Regions from separate parts of the Homo sapiens genome. Here all the other regions are linked to region 3. Evidence: promoter capture Hi-C in 16 types of primary human blood cells and fetal thymus (Javierre and others, 2016). All regions are on one chromosome and are shown on one strand. Each heading gives the region's core, a stretch centred on a gene start or on the middle of the fragment in contact. The rest is flanking DNA. Distances are from core to core; before and after follow the strand shown.

The links. The method cuts DNA at HindIII sites, captures the fragments that hold promoters and counts their contacts. A CHiCAGO score of 5 or more calls a contact.
Region 1: a fragment that was not itself captured here is called in contact with the fragment with the promoter of TMEM207 in region 3 in 1 of 17 cell types (neutrophils); the score reaches 5.7 in neutrophils.
Region 2: a fragment that was not itself captured here is called in contact with the fragment with the promoter of TMEM207 in region 3 in 1 of 17 cell types (neutrophils); the score reaches 5.5 in neutrophils.

The regions. Positions count from the first base shown.
Region 1 is chr3:190,651,621-190,656,043 of GRCh38, forward strand. It overlaps a transcript of IL1RAP not described here. Among named protein-coding and RNA genes, the nearest start is that of LINC02013, 45 kb to the right of the region's middle. The HindIII fragment of the contact is 4,251 bases long and covers 286-4,423 here.
Region 2 is chr3:190,670,938-190,675,063 of GRCh38, forward strand. No RefSeq gene overlaps it. Among named protein-coding and RNA genes, the nearest start is that of LINC02013, 26 kb to the right of the region's middle. The HindIII fragment of the contact is 8,522 bases long and covers 1-4,126 here.
Region 3 is chr3:190,448,455-190,452,344 of GRCh38, forward strand. TMEM207 (transmembrane protein 207) reads right to left here and starts at 1,447. Exons shown (of 5, transcript NM_207316.3): 1 at 1,281-1,447. The coding sequence starts at 1,355. The HindIII fragment of the contact is 654 bases long and covers 1,154-1,807 here.

The DNA.
Region 1 (4,423 bases), core at 1,161-3,660, 200 kb after region 3:
AGTTACATTAGTTAAGTGTCTTTCTGAGATAAATCTGAGTAAAATGGGAACTTCTTATCAAGAACATTTTCTTTACATGGAAGTAAAAGTTACTTAAGTAAAATGAATTGTTCCAGAATACTAGGACATATTTTATGGGTGTATATGTGTTTATGTGTGTATGTGTATGTGTATGTGTATGTGTATGTGTGTATGCAGAGAGACAGAAAGACTGTCAAAAAGATGGAAAGATACAGAGAGACAGAGAAAAAGGAGAGAAAGATTATTTTAATACAAAGGAAAACAAGCTTATTCCTTTTTACTCAACTTGGAACTTAGGTCGTTTACAGGAATATTTTTCATCTAATAGGCTTTAACGCAACCACACGGTAGTTGCTTTGGAAATAGATAAAACTAATGCCATGACTTTAGTTAATTGATGATCATTTGAATCAAAGATGCATTTCTGTTACAAATTTTGAATAAATCAGTGATTAATATTTGGAAACATATTTTATTTTCGGTTAATAATACAAGTCCATAGTGACAGGGATGCCTTTTTGCTTTAAAAAAAAAAATCCCTGGCCAGGCGCGGTGGCTCACGCTGTAATCCCAGCACTTTGGGAGGCTGAAGCGGATGGATCAAGAGGTCAGGAGATCGAGACCATCCTGGCCAACATGGTGAAACCCTGTCTCTATTAAAATACAAAAAATTAGCTGGGCATAGTGGTGCACGCCTGTAGTCCCAGCTACTCGGGAGGCTAAGGCAGGGGAATCGCTTGAACCCGGGAGGCGGAGATTGCAGTGAGCTGAGATTGCACCACTGGACTCCAGCCTGGCGACAGAGCGAGACTTCAGAAAAAAAAAAAAAATCCTATTTGTTCATTTTACTGAGCCCTGTAACATGCTCAGAATTGGTTAGCTTAGTAAAGGTTCTTCTACTGAAGAATTAATTTTCCTTTTGCAAACCAGCCCCAAAAGTGTAGGCTTAGGATCAACGGATCGAAGTTACAAGGCAACAGATTTCTGCTCAGTTAGAAAATAGCTGTAAAGCAGAGTTCGACACTAATGGAATTCACTATCTTTGGAAATACTAGGCCTGCCATTACCAGAGGTATATAAGCATTTATTTGATAGATTTTCATTGAGATTTTGTATATGAGTTTTTTGCACTGGATAAGTGGTTTTGAGTCTGAAGTTGTTTCCAACCCTGAACGTGTTAAGTGACCTACTAGAACATACTGGTGACTCTTTGGAAGATTCAACTTCAGCATTTTGCATATGATCTACCTGGCTGTGATTAACCTTCCTTAAACTCTCAAGATTTTTTTTTCCAGTATATACTGATGTCACTAGCTCTTTAACGCAAGTAAATACACAGTATGGTATGAGAGACGGGTTTAGCAACTAGTCTATCTTATTTCTCTGTTTCTACTCAAGGAATATAAAGTAACCTTAGTAATGAGTTAGGAGATGGAGTGTTTTAGTAGTAATTTTAATCTACATCTATTTAAAACTGAATAGACAGAACTTTTACACACTATTACTCTTATAAATCCACATAGTAAGATGATATTTTAAAGTTAGCATTAATAATTGATACAGATTCAATAAACATTAGTCCATATATGATTTTACTATTGTGTTCACTAGACGTTGAGCAACAGTAATTTAATCAAAGTGATTTATGCAATGTGTACTGTGTGCTAGAAATTCACATGTAGGCATCTAATTTGTTTATCAGCCCTACGAGTTTACTTTATCATATGCATTTTATAGATGGATGAACTAGGACTCAAAAGATATTAAGATACAAATAGGGATAAATGGAGAAAGCAATATTTGAAACCACATTCGTCTTCCAAGTTAAATATTTCCTTTTTTCTATACTTCAAGTTTTAATAGAGAAAATGAAAGAGACAGAGGTTTGCTGTTCTTTTATCTACTAATAACTCATCCAGAGGAGAAAAAAAAAAATGACCATCCTAGTTTTCTTCTAAGTGAACTCCATGGAAGTTATGACTTTTACAGGCAAGAGTATTCTTGAGTATTGAAGAGTTCTCAGTCATACAACATGACTTCAAAGCCAATTTAGTACCACACAAGAAAACAAATCTCATTATTATATGGCCATACCTCATTTTTTGAGCCAAACAGAATAAATGAGCTAAATTACTACTCCTCCAAGTAAACTTTAGCATTAAAAATAATAGCTCCTGTCCTCAAATATGAAGTTTTGGCAATATAGAAGGTATTTTAAAAATATGCAATAAAGCATGCAACTCCCTTTACAGTATTAAGTGAAGATCCTTCGGTATAGCCCAGGACCTTTCTGAGAAGCATCTCCTACATGTGTTTCTCAACGTCTAAAATTCCGCCACTCTTACCTGCATTTAGCATTGTCCTCTTTCAAATCTAAACTTCCTCACTTTCTGGATGGAGTACCAATAAAAAAATTAAAGAGCAACAGACTCAAAAGTCATTTTTTAAGAAGATCTGGAACAGTGTTTGTTGTATTTTAAACAACAATATTCCTATTGGCAAAAACATACATTTTCCTAAGGTGACTGTTTTGAAGTGAAACATCATATCACACACACACACACACACACACACACACACACACACACAATTTGCATGAGTTCTCTTTGTTGACAAGCTAGCCATGTTGCCTTAAGGTTATTTCACATTTCTCAGGAGCCAGGAGAAGCAGTAGACTTCCCACTTTCATATTCTCTGATTTATGAGAGGCAGCCTCTTAAGATTCTGAGTAGGACTAGAGGGGACTGAGGAGTTGCTAAAACACATGCACATGTGCACACACTCGTACACACAGAAGGGTTTTAATGATAAACGAGAATTTAAATTTATCTCTTAAGAATGAATGAAACAAAATGTCTCTAAAAACATTTTTGCACTCCTGCTTAAACCAATCAAAAGTTCTCAAAACTTGAGCACGTGTCTCTCCAATTTCCCTTCAAATTCATGTTAAATCCACTGATTGAAAAAAACAAAACTATAATCTGTAAGAAGCACAGCTCCCTTATTCCCTGTCAAGTTCACAATGACCAATGCAAACTTTCAGTCTGTCTTCCAAGGCTGAAAACTCTCTCCGTTACTGTTTCGTCCCTGGACCAAAAGCAGAGGTGTTCACCCTCACACGGTGACTCTGGCACATGTTTTCAAAGTTATAAATGGCTAGGATTTACAATTTTGAACCTTTTTCCTTCAGGATATGGCATGTTCTAAGCTCCTAAATCTCACAGTGAGTTAAGCATTACATTTATTTGAAGAACTTTCCCTTGGGATCTGTCCAAATCCACTTTGATACCATTAGAATCGAATGGTTTGCCAGAAGTCTTAGCTACTTGACTAATTCTTACCCATTTTCATTGTTTTTGCCCCTTTAATTCCAATTCTTCACACACAGACGCACACACACACGCACCACACACACAGAAAAAAGAATTTAATTGATAACAAGATAAATACTATGAACTACTATGAACTGTCCGATGTTGTGTCCAAAAATGTTAAGTATCAAAGGATATAACTGAGAATCTTAGGAGGTGATAATTCCTGTTGCTCTTTGCTGATCAGACTATGTCAGGAGCATTATGTTCACTCCTGTTCATAATACTACTCTTAGAAGACACATCTATAAACTGAACATTATCCAGAGGAAAATGGTAAACATGCAGAGGAGACATGAGGCCATGTCATTTATGGAATAAGAGAAATATCCTGAAAATATTTAATCCAGACATAAGAAGAAAATACTACAAAGATATAAAAATGGTTTTCAAATATTCTAAACATTTAAAGACTCAAGATCTGACCACCAGATAACATTTGCGAGGAAGAAGATTTCAAAACAAGAAATAATTTGTAAACAGAGCTGAAATGACTTGCTTTTGATGGTGGCTAATATTTTGAGGGTAGTTACTCAATTGCCCACCGTGTGTGTGTGTGTGTGTGTGTGTGTGTGTGTGTGTGTGTGTGTGTGTTTTAAGAAAGACTTATTGAAGAAGGAGACTACTGCAATGAGGGTTTTGCAGTAGGAGAGAGAGACTGAGCTCAACTACCATACCATCCTTGAAGGCAGTAAATTCTTAGCAACCATTGACAAGAGTGGTGTAGATTTTTTTGACTGGGTAAATTATTCAGCACTGAGATTCTGTCATCTCAAGTGTTTGTTCATTCCCTGTCCTCTGGAGGATGGACAATAACGAACTGGAATATATGTAAGTTTTCACTATACATTGTCCTATATTTCCATTTTCCTATAGATACAGTGGAAGCAGTTTTTGATTTCATTCAGAGAAGCAGAAGGATGATTGTTGTTCTGAGCCCTGACTATGTGACAGAAAAGAGCATCAGCATGCTGGAGTTTAAACTGGGTGTCATGTGCCAGAACTCCATTGCCACCAAGCTCATTGTGGTT
Region 2 (4,126 bases), core at 446-2,945, 220 kb after region 3:
AAAGTCAAAATATTTCAAAGAAAGTCTGCTTCCAATTATATTTTATCAAATCAATTACCGTTAGGAAGAGCTTTCAATATATTTTATTCAGGAATTTGAATTTTTTTATTCAGAGCTATAAATCAATTAATTAATCAATTATCATTAATTCAGCAACAATCCAAAACAGAATAGTAAAATGTTACACACAAAAGGCACAGAGAAAACTTTTGCAAGTACAGTGCATAATTACTTCCTTTTTTTTTTTCTTTGAGACACAGTCTCACTCTGTGGCCCAGGCTGGAGTGCAGTGGCACAATCTTGGCTTACTGCAAACTCTGCCTCCCAGGTTCAAGCGATTCTCGTGCCTCAGCCTCCTGAGTAGCTGGAATTACAGGCATGAGCCACCATGCCCAGCTAATTTTTGTATTTTTAGTAGAGACGGGGTTTTGCCATGTTGGCCAGGCTGGTCTCAAAACTCCTGACCTCAAGTGATCCACCTGCCTGGGCCTCTCAAAGTTCTGGATTACAGGCGTGAGACACTGCTCCTGGCCCATAATTATTTTCAAATTTTGAAAAACAAATTGAAAACATATCCCATTAGCTATGTTTGTGAAACATACAGTCTTTTGAAGAATTAAAAGAGAAGTCATGAAGATAACACAACCGTTTCCTCTGGAATTATAACAAAATCATACTCAATAGCATGTCCATAGCAGACTATATTGTTTTATTATGCAAACCTTAATCTGGAAAACTCTAGGTTAGATATTTGATTCAAAAAATTACATTGATCTATTCAGGGAATTACATTAATTGCGTGAGACAGGCTGTAGCGACGGGCCATCAAGTTTAAATAACTGCAGACAGTGACTCATCTCTTGGAGCACATTTCACATGGCTTAATTGATAAAAACTATGAAAAAAGCCACAACTATGTACTTTATAAATAGTTGTGTTTATGGACATTGATTTCCTTTAAAAATAAATATTTCTTCCTACTAGGTAGTCCTTTTCAATCTATCTGACCTTGAAATTGCTATGAAGTGTTGTGTGTGGGAGGCCGCAGGGGACTGGCTGGAGAAAGAAAGGGTAATGAAAAGTAGTAGGATCCACCTACTCTCACTCACATACATTATACCATTTAGACAACAAGAGGCAGGATAATTATCCCCATTTCATAGATGAGAAAACCAAAATTCGGAAAAACTAACTTGTTCAAGATAAAACAGATAACAAGTGGCAGAACCAGGATTTGAAAACCAGATAAATCCGGCTTCAACATCTAAATTTTCCACACAGGCTGGGTGCGGTGGCTCACGCCTATAATCCTAGCAATTTGGGAGGCCAAGACAGGTGGATCACATGAGGTCAGGAGTTCGAGACCAGCCTGACCAATATGGCAAAACCCCATCTCTACTAAAAATACAAAAATTCACCGGGCACGGTGGCGCACGCCTGTAATCCCAGCTACTTGGGAAGCTGAGGCAGGAGAATCGCTTGAATCAGGAGGGTGGAGGTTGTAGTGAGCCAAGATCGCACCACTTCACTCCAGCCCGGGCGACAGAGGGAAACTCCGTCACAAATAAAATAAAATAATAAATTTTCCACACAAATAAGACTCCCTCATAACATTTCAAATAAACATGATTCTTAAGTGGTTGTTTATATTTTATATCATTGACATACTGTGATGATGAAATGTGATCAAGAACTGTTTGATGATTAATAAGCTGTATTATTTTGTCATTACAGATTATAAGACTATCAAGATGGCCTTGTGAGTTAAAATGTCTGTTTAACTCTTTTGAATTAAAATGTTATGTTATGGCAATAGCAATAGCAATAAATCACATTTATATAACACTTTATAGTTTCAAAATATTTCCACATAGTCTACCTCCTTGTGATTCTGTTCTCATAACAACTTGTGAGGTAGGCAGAACTGATATTATTCCCACTATTTTATATTTGGGAAATTGAGGGACAGAGAACTTTGCTCAAATCAAATTAATGAAGAGCCCATATGAAAACACAGGTAATTCATTCATCGATGTATGTACTCTTTTAACAAATAATTTTACATATCTATTATGTGACACATACTCTTATTTCTTAAGTGATATCTAAGCTATTACTCATTCCATTAGTTGAAACCTTATATTACAAGATATATTAGATATGTTAATGACAGTGCCTACCACCCCTAACACCTTTTCAAATCCCAACCTACCACCTCTACTAAGAAAAGCTGACGTCGTTTGTTCTTTGAGTGAGTTCACTAATTTGGACTGGTCCGAGAGCAGCAAATTCATTCACTGGCTGCTACCATACAAAGTAGTCTAGTATGAAATATCTGCTCACAGGGGCAATGGCTGTTGAAAAGGCCAATTAGATCATCTTCCTTTGGAATTTGAATAGGAAAACATAGAACAAAAAAATAGCTTTTGGCAGGAGAAGCATAAAAAAGAAGACACTTAAAAAGAATCAGAAACTGAGCAAATAGGAATTCCAGACCTCTGAGTTAAATGCCAGACTTAATAGAACAGAAGTCCTTGTTCTTATGCTGGACACATAGCATTGCTGGCTAATATATTTAACATAAATTAAAACTATTAAAAAAAAAGATAAAGCAAGAAAGAGAAATATTCAGAGGCCAGAAATGAAAAATAAGCCCAGAGCAACAGCAATGAGCAAGAGGCCACACTGCCTCTGGGAGAGTAGGGGTATATGCATTAGTAGCTTAAACATTTAATGCTACATGCAAAAACTAGCCAAAACTTCAGTTCCCACATATAGAGAGGATTGTAGCTGGGCTCTTAAGTACAAATGAGAAGCCAAACTTAGTGCTGCTTTGTATATATACGGGGTCCTAAAATCTCTGAAAATCCCTGCCCGCTTACCAACAAAACCTGAGGTCACAGGCATGAACAAAGTCACCAGTAATAGACTGAGATCTTACAGGAAAAATAACTAATGAGTAGTAGGCTTAATACCTGGGTGAAAAAATAATATGTACAACAAACCTCCATGACATGAGTTACCTACATAACAAACCTGTACATCTACCACTGAAGTTAAAATAAAAGTTAAAAATAAATAAATAAAATTAAAAATTACAAAAAAAAGAGAGCGATAATGAGATACTCGTCCTTTACCTATGTGGAGCTCAAGTTTACGCTATCTGAAATATTTGGAAAAATCCTAAGGAAAAAAAGCTGACATAAAAATTAGAACTAGCAAACACCTTAGGACCTAGGCAGAGGCAACTATAAAACTGCTCCCTTGGAGAAACTTACGGTATTCAGCATTTGCATAAGACTCCCTAAGAAGCTGACCCCTGAAGATGTTCTTAACAAATATCAAAAGCAGACAAACAACAGACTTTCCAAATGGGAAAATTCATATGCATGGAACCGCAGGAAAGAGAGAGATAAGTATTTTTATGTGTTTATAATGCTCAAAATAATCAAAAGTGAAACCAAACCAATAAAAAAGAAAAAGAATGGATCATAATATAAAGGTAAGTAGCTTTGACCATCAGTGAACTTCTTACCAGCATAAATTGAAGCAAGTCTGCTTCTGGAATAATATTATTCCAGTGTTGAGGTGTTGAGGGAAAAAAACCTGTCCCCAAATTAGATACCCAGGTAAACTATAATTCACATCAGTCGATAAAATAAAGACATTTCTAAAAAGCAAACGCTGAGTGAAAGCACTATCCATGAAATTTACAAAAAGGAAATATACTTAATCAAGGAAGAAAGTGAAGCTAGAAGGAAGGAATCATATGTAAGAAGCAAACATAAGTAAAGAAATAAAAAGTATTGAAAACAAACTTAAGTATTCAATGTAAATTTTAAAAATGATAATTATTTAGCATTTGTGGAATGAAAATACTAGATAATTATATGGAAGGCCAGAGGGGAGAAATTAAGATGGTTGTGAAACTCAGGTTTTTTTGTTGTTTGGGAGAATGATAGAAACATTATTTAGTTTATCAGACAAATATCAACCAAATAGGTATATTAAAATACAGTAGAAACCACTAAAATAACATAAATATTTAACTTAAAAAGCAATAGGAAAAGAGAGAAAATAGGCCAGGTGTGGTGGCTCACAACTGTAGTCCCAGCACTTTGGGAGA
Region 3 (3,890 bases), core at 197-2,696:
TGCTCTTAGTTATCTGCACTGAGTGTCATAGGTTACAACATCTCATATACTAAATCACAAGGAAAAAGGCACTTCTTTCTAAAGATCTTATTATCTATTTGCTTGCTTGACCCTTTGAACCAGGACTCCTTCCTTGTACAAGGAGAAAGTCTTTAAACGGCATTTATGTGTAGCTCTGAACACTTAGTTGATGAAGTCAGTTGAAGTATTTATTTTCCTGGACTATAACACGCAAATAAAAGTACAAGTAAGAAGTTACAAAATTTAAAGTGATAGACTTGGGAGTTCTGTGTGAGATGTGTCTTTTCCCCCCTTAATCCCAAAAGCATCTTCTTCAGCACCTTGTATTTACTCCACCAAGTTTATCTGGGCAAAGAGATTTGTGGAGTTGCAGATGGAGCCATGAATTGGCCATCAGAGAGCATGGTAATGAACAATTTATAAGCACAGAAAATGAGTTGCATTCTTTTTTGCTAGAATGCTGCAAATAGATTTGCATACTAAGTGAAAGGAAAATGAACATTCACATTTTGTCCATAAAGAAAGTTTATTTATGAGTAGATGAAATCGTTTGGGATCCAGCTTAACAGATAAACAAATAAAACCAGTATTTCACTTTCAAGTCACTTCCGTGTTTTTTCTGTGTGTTGTACCCTAGCAATAGTACACAGTATTAAATTATTAGCACCTCACTGCCAACACATTAGCTGTCAAACTTCCAGTTATTATGAAGAGGTAAGGAAAGCTATAATTTACTTTAGATCTAAATCTTTCAGATACCTTGCATTGAAGTCACACAGATCTAGAGATGCACGTGTTAGTCAGAAGGGGATGCTGGAGCAGAGGAACTGAAATAAATCCTAAAATGGTTCTGTCTACATCAGTCAGCATTGAAAAACTGTCAAGCATCAAGTATGGTTGTAGGCAATAGTAAACATGTCTTAAATTAATCTAGCCATAGCATTTTGTTCTGTGTCAATAGCATTTTGAATTTAAAAAATTACAGCATAGCAAAGTTAAACAAAGGTTAAATTTGCAATCACGTTATTTCAGTAGCAATAGAACTAATTGAAGGAGAAATAAGACTAATGCCTTGGACATTTTGTTTTGTCCCTCTGACCAGTGAATACAAGAAATCATAAGATGCTAGTAAAGCTTGAAGGAAATCTTTTAAATGTAGAAGCAGTTAAGTTGCTCACATATAAATCTATAGCAAATCAAGTCCTCAGAGTACCTCAGAGTACCTCTGAAAACCTTAACCCAGAAAGAGAGATAGTTACCTGGAATAGCGGCAAACACAAGATCCCTATCGTTGAGATCGCTGAGGTGACACTGAAAAGTCTGGATCTTGACATATTTAAAGGACAGTCAACTTAGGATAGTGGTTTGGTGCCTGTGTTTATTTCCTTCTTTCTCAGAACTTACTAGCTTCTCTATAAGTTATGCTTCCTACCAGGACATGCATTAATAATGGCTCCTTGTGACTCGTAAAGTGCATGCTAGGGGAAGGAATGTTGGGTACATGTTTACAGGTACTAAGAGCCCAAGGAATTTAAGTTTAAGGTGAGAACTTTAGCACTGTTTGTCAAGGCCTTTAAAAGTAGGGGTTATAAATGCTGACCTACAGAGCTAGCTGGCTACTTAATAACTTTCCACATTCAAGTGCATGTTTTATTCCAGGGAACTTCTGGGTTTCTAATAGTATTTCATATTTGGAACATTTATTCAATTTTCTTCCCTTTGTTGGTACTCTTTGTTCTCCTACACACCATTTTCAGTTCCAGGTCTAACCCAAACTTAGGCATAAAGCTTTCCTTGTTTTATTGTGATAATACCCCTCTTTTAAACAAGGTATATTTCAATGTTTATTTTATGAAACAACTCCATCACTACCACTGAAAAATAAAGCAAGAATATCTAGGGAAATTCTGAGAAAAAGAAAAGGCACTAACCTATTGTACATTAAGATGTCTTAATCTATGCATTTTACAAAAATTAGTACTGATATGTGTAAATAATAAGGTAAATGTAAAAGAGTAGAGAGTTTAGAAATGGAGAGTTTAGACTCAAATAAACAAATTTATTTAAGCTTCCATTTGAAACTAGTGGAGAGAAGATGGATATCTTTCAGGGTATAATGAAGAGCTAAATGGTTATGTGGAAAGAATGTAACAAATGATTGTTAAGATGCTTAACCTCAGTCATAATTAGATAAACATACCTTAGAATTATAATCAGATTGGCAAGTTCAAAAAATTGATAATATAGGGAAGAGGGATAAATACTGGGAAACAAATACTCTCATATACGGTTGGGAAAACTGTACAGCTTATTTGGAAAACAAGTAGGCAATATACATCAACATAAAAAATAAATATGCCCTTAGAGCAAGAATTCTCCTTGCAAGATACATGAATGTACCCCTTACACATGGCACAAATTACTATATGCAATGATGTTCATCGAAGCATTGTTGGTGTTAACAAAATATTGGAAACAGCAAATATTCATGAAAATGTGACAGACTAAGTACAAAATGGTTATATAAATTCAACAGAATACTAGGAATCTGTTTTAAAAGGTGGAGACAGATCACAGATGCTGATATAGAGAGGTCTGTAATAGTTATTGAATAAAAGGAACAAAAATCACAGAACTTTGTGTACATCATGTCACATTTGTATGCAAAAATAGGAAGGTAGAGCTATAGTATTCTCTCCGTACACAAAACTTATGCATATATACTTATATATGCATAGGATGTCTCTGCATGAAACTGCTAACAGTGGTTGCTCTGTGAAAGGGAAATTGCAAACTAAGAAGACCAGAGTGGGAAGGAAATTTACTTTTCACTGTTACTTCCTTGTATTTTTGATATTTTTTACAATGTCTATATGTCATCTAATTATTTTTTACATATATTCACTTCTAAGAGCCAATTTTGAAGGCAATGATCCACAATGCAGAATGAGAATATCGTAATTCAAGCTCCAGTGTAGTTCACCACATCCAATTCAAATTGTAATGTATGAACCCATTTACAATCACACACATAGATTGCTCTAGAAACAAACCAGCAGTATTAGGTATCTAAACTACTGCACAGAGTTGGCCATCGCGGTATATGGACTAGTTGAGCTGCATCTGGATGGGTGAAGCCGTCTGTGTGGTGACTACGCTCTGTTTAGTATGCAGCCACGGTCGCAGCCATGAATTTCAAAGCAGAGGAAGGCTTGGTGCCAATGCCAATAGGAGAAAAGTAAACCAAACCTACAGTATTATTTATCCCCCAGATACGCTCCATTTTGAGTGTCTCTGAAGCCTGTAATTAAACAGAATGAAAAATAGGCTTTTCACTGGTGAACTTATTTATTAGGCAGTCAGAAGCCTGACTTCCGTCGGTGGAGTCAATGATCTTAAGAATTTCTGGGAAAGGAAGAGGCCAGATGACTAGAGAAGAGACAGAATGGAAATAAGGGCAGCATATTTGGTTTTGCCTCAGAAACTGCAATAATGACCAACTACATACATGGATTAAGTAATTATTGTCAAAAAAAATGCATGATTCTGCAGCAGCTGCCTGATTAGGAGTATGGCAGCTGAATGGAGATGGAGTCTATAGTCACAATAGTAATGCAAACACAGCAATTATATTTGGTGCTAAAATCAAAATTTATATTCATTTCCACCTTGCCATTTATCCATTTACTTCTGTGACTTTCCCATGCCACTTCCAACGTCCAGCATAACAGTTTCTAAGACAGTAGTTTTTCTAGTACATTTCCTTCCTAGCATCATGAGAGTTTGGTGGTTGTGGAATACAAAATCTGACCATGAGTGCAATTTTACCTGCAAAATTTTTTTAATAGATACTTAAAATTAAAATAGCT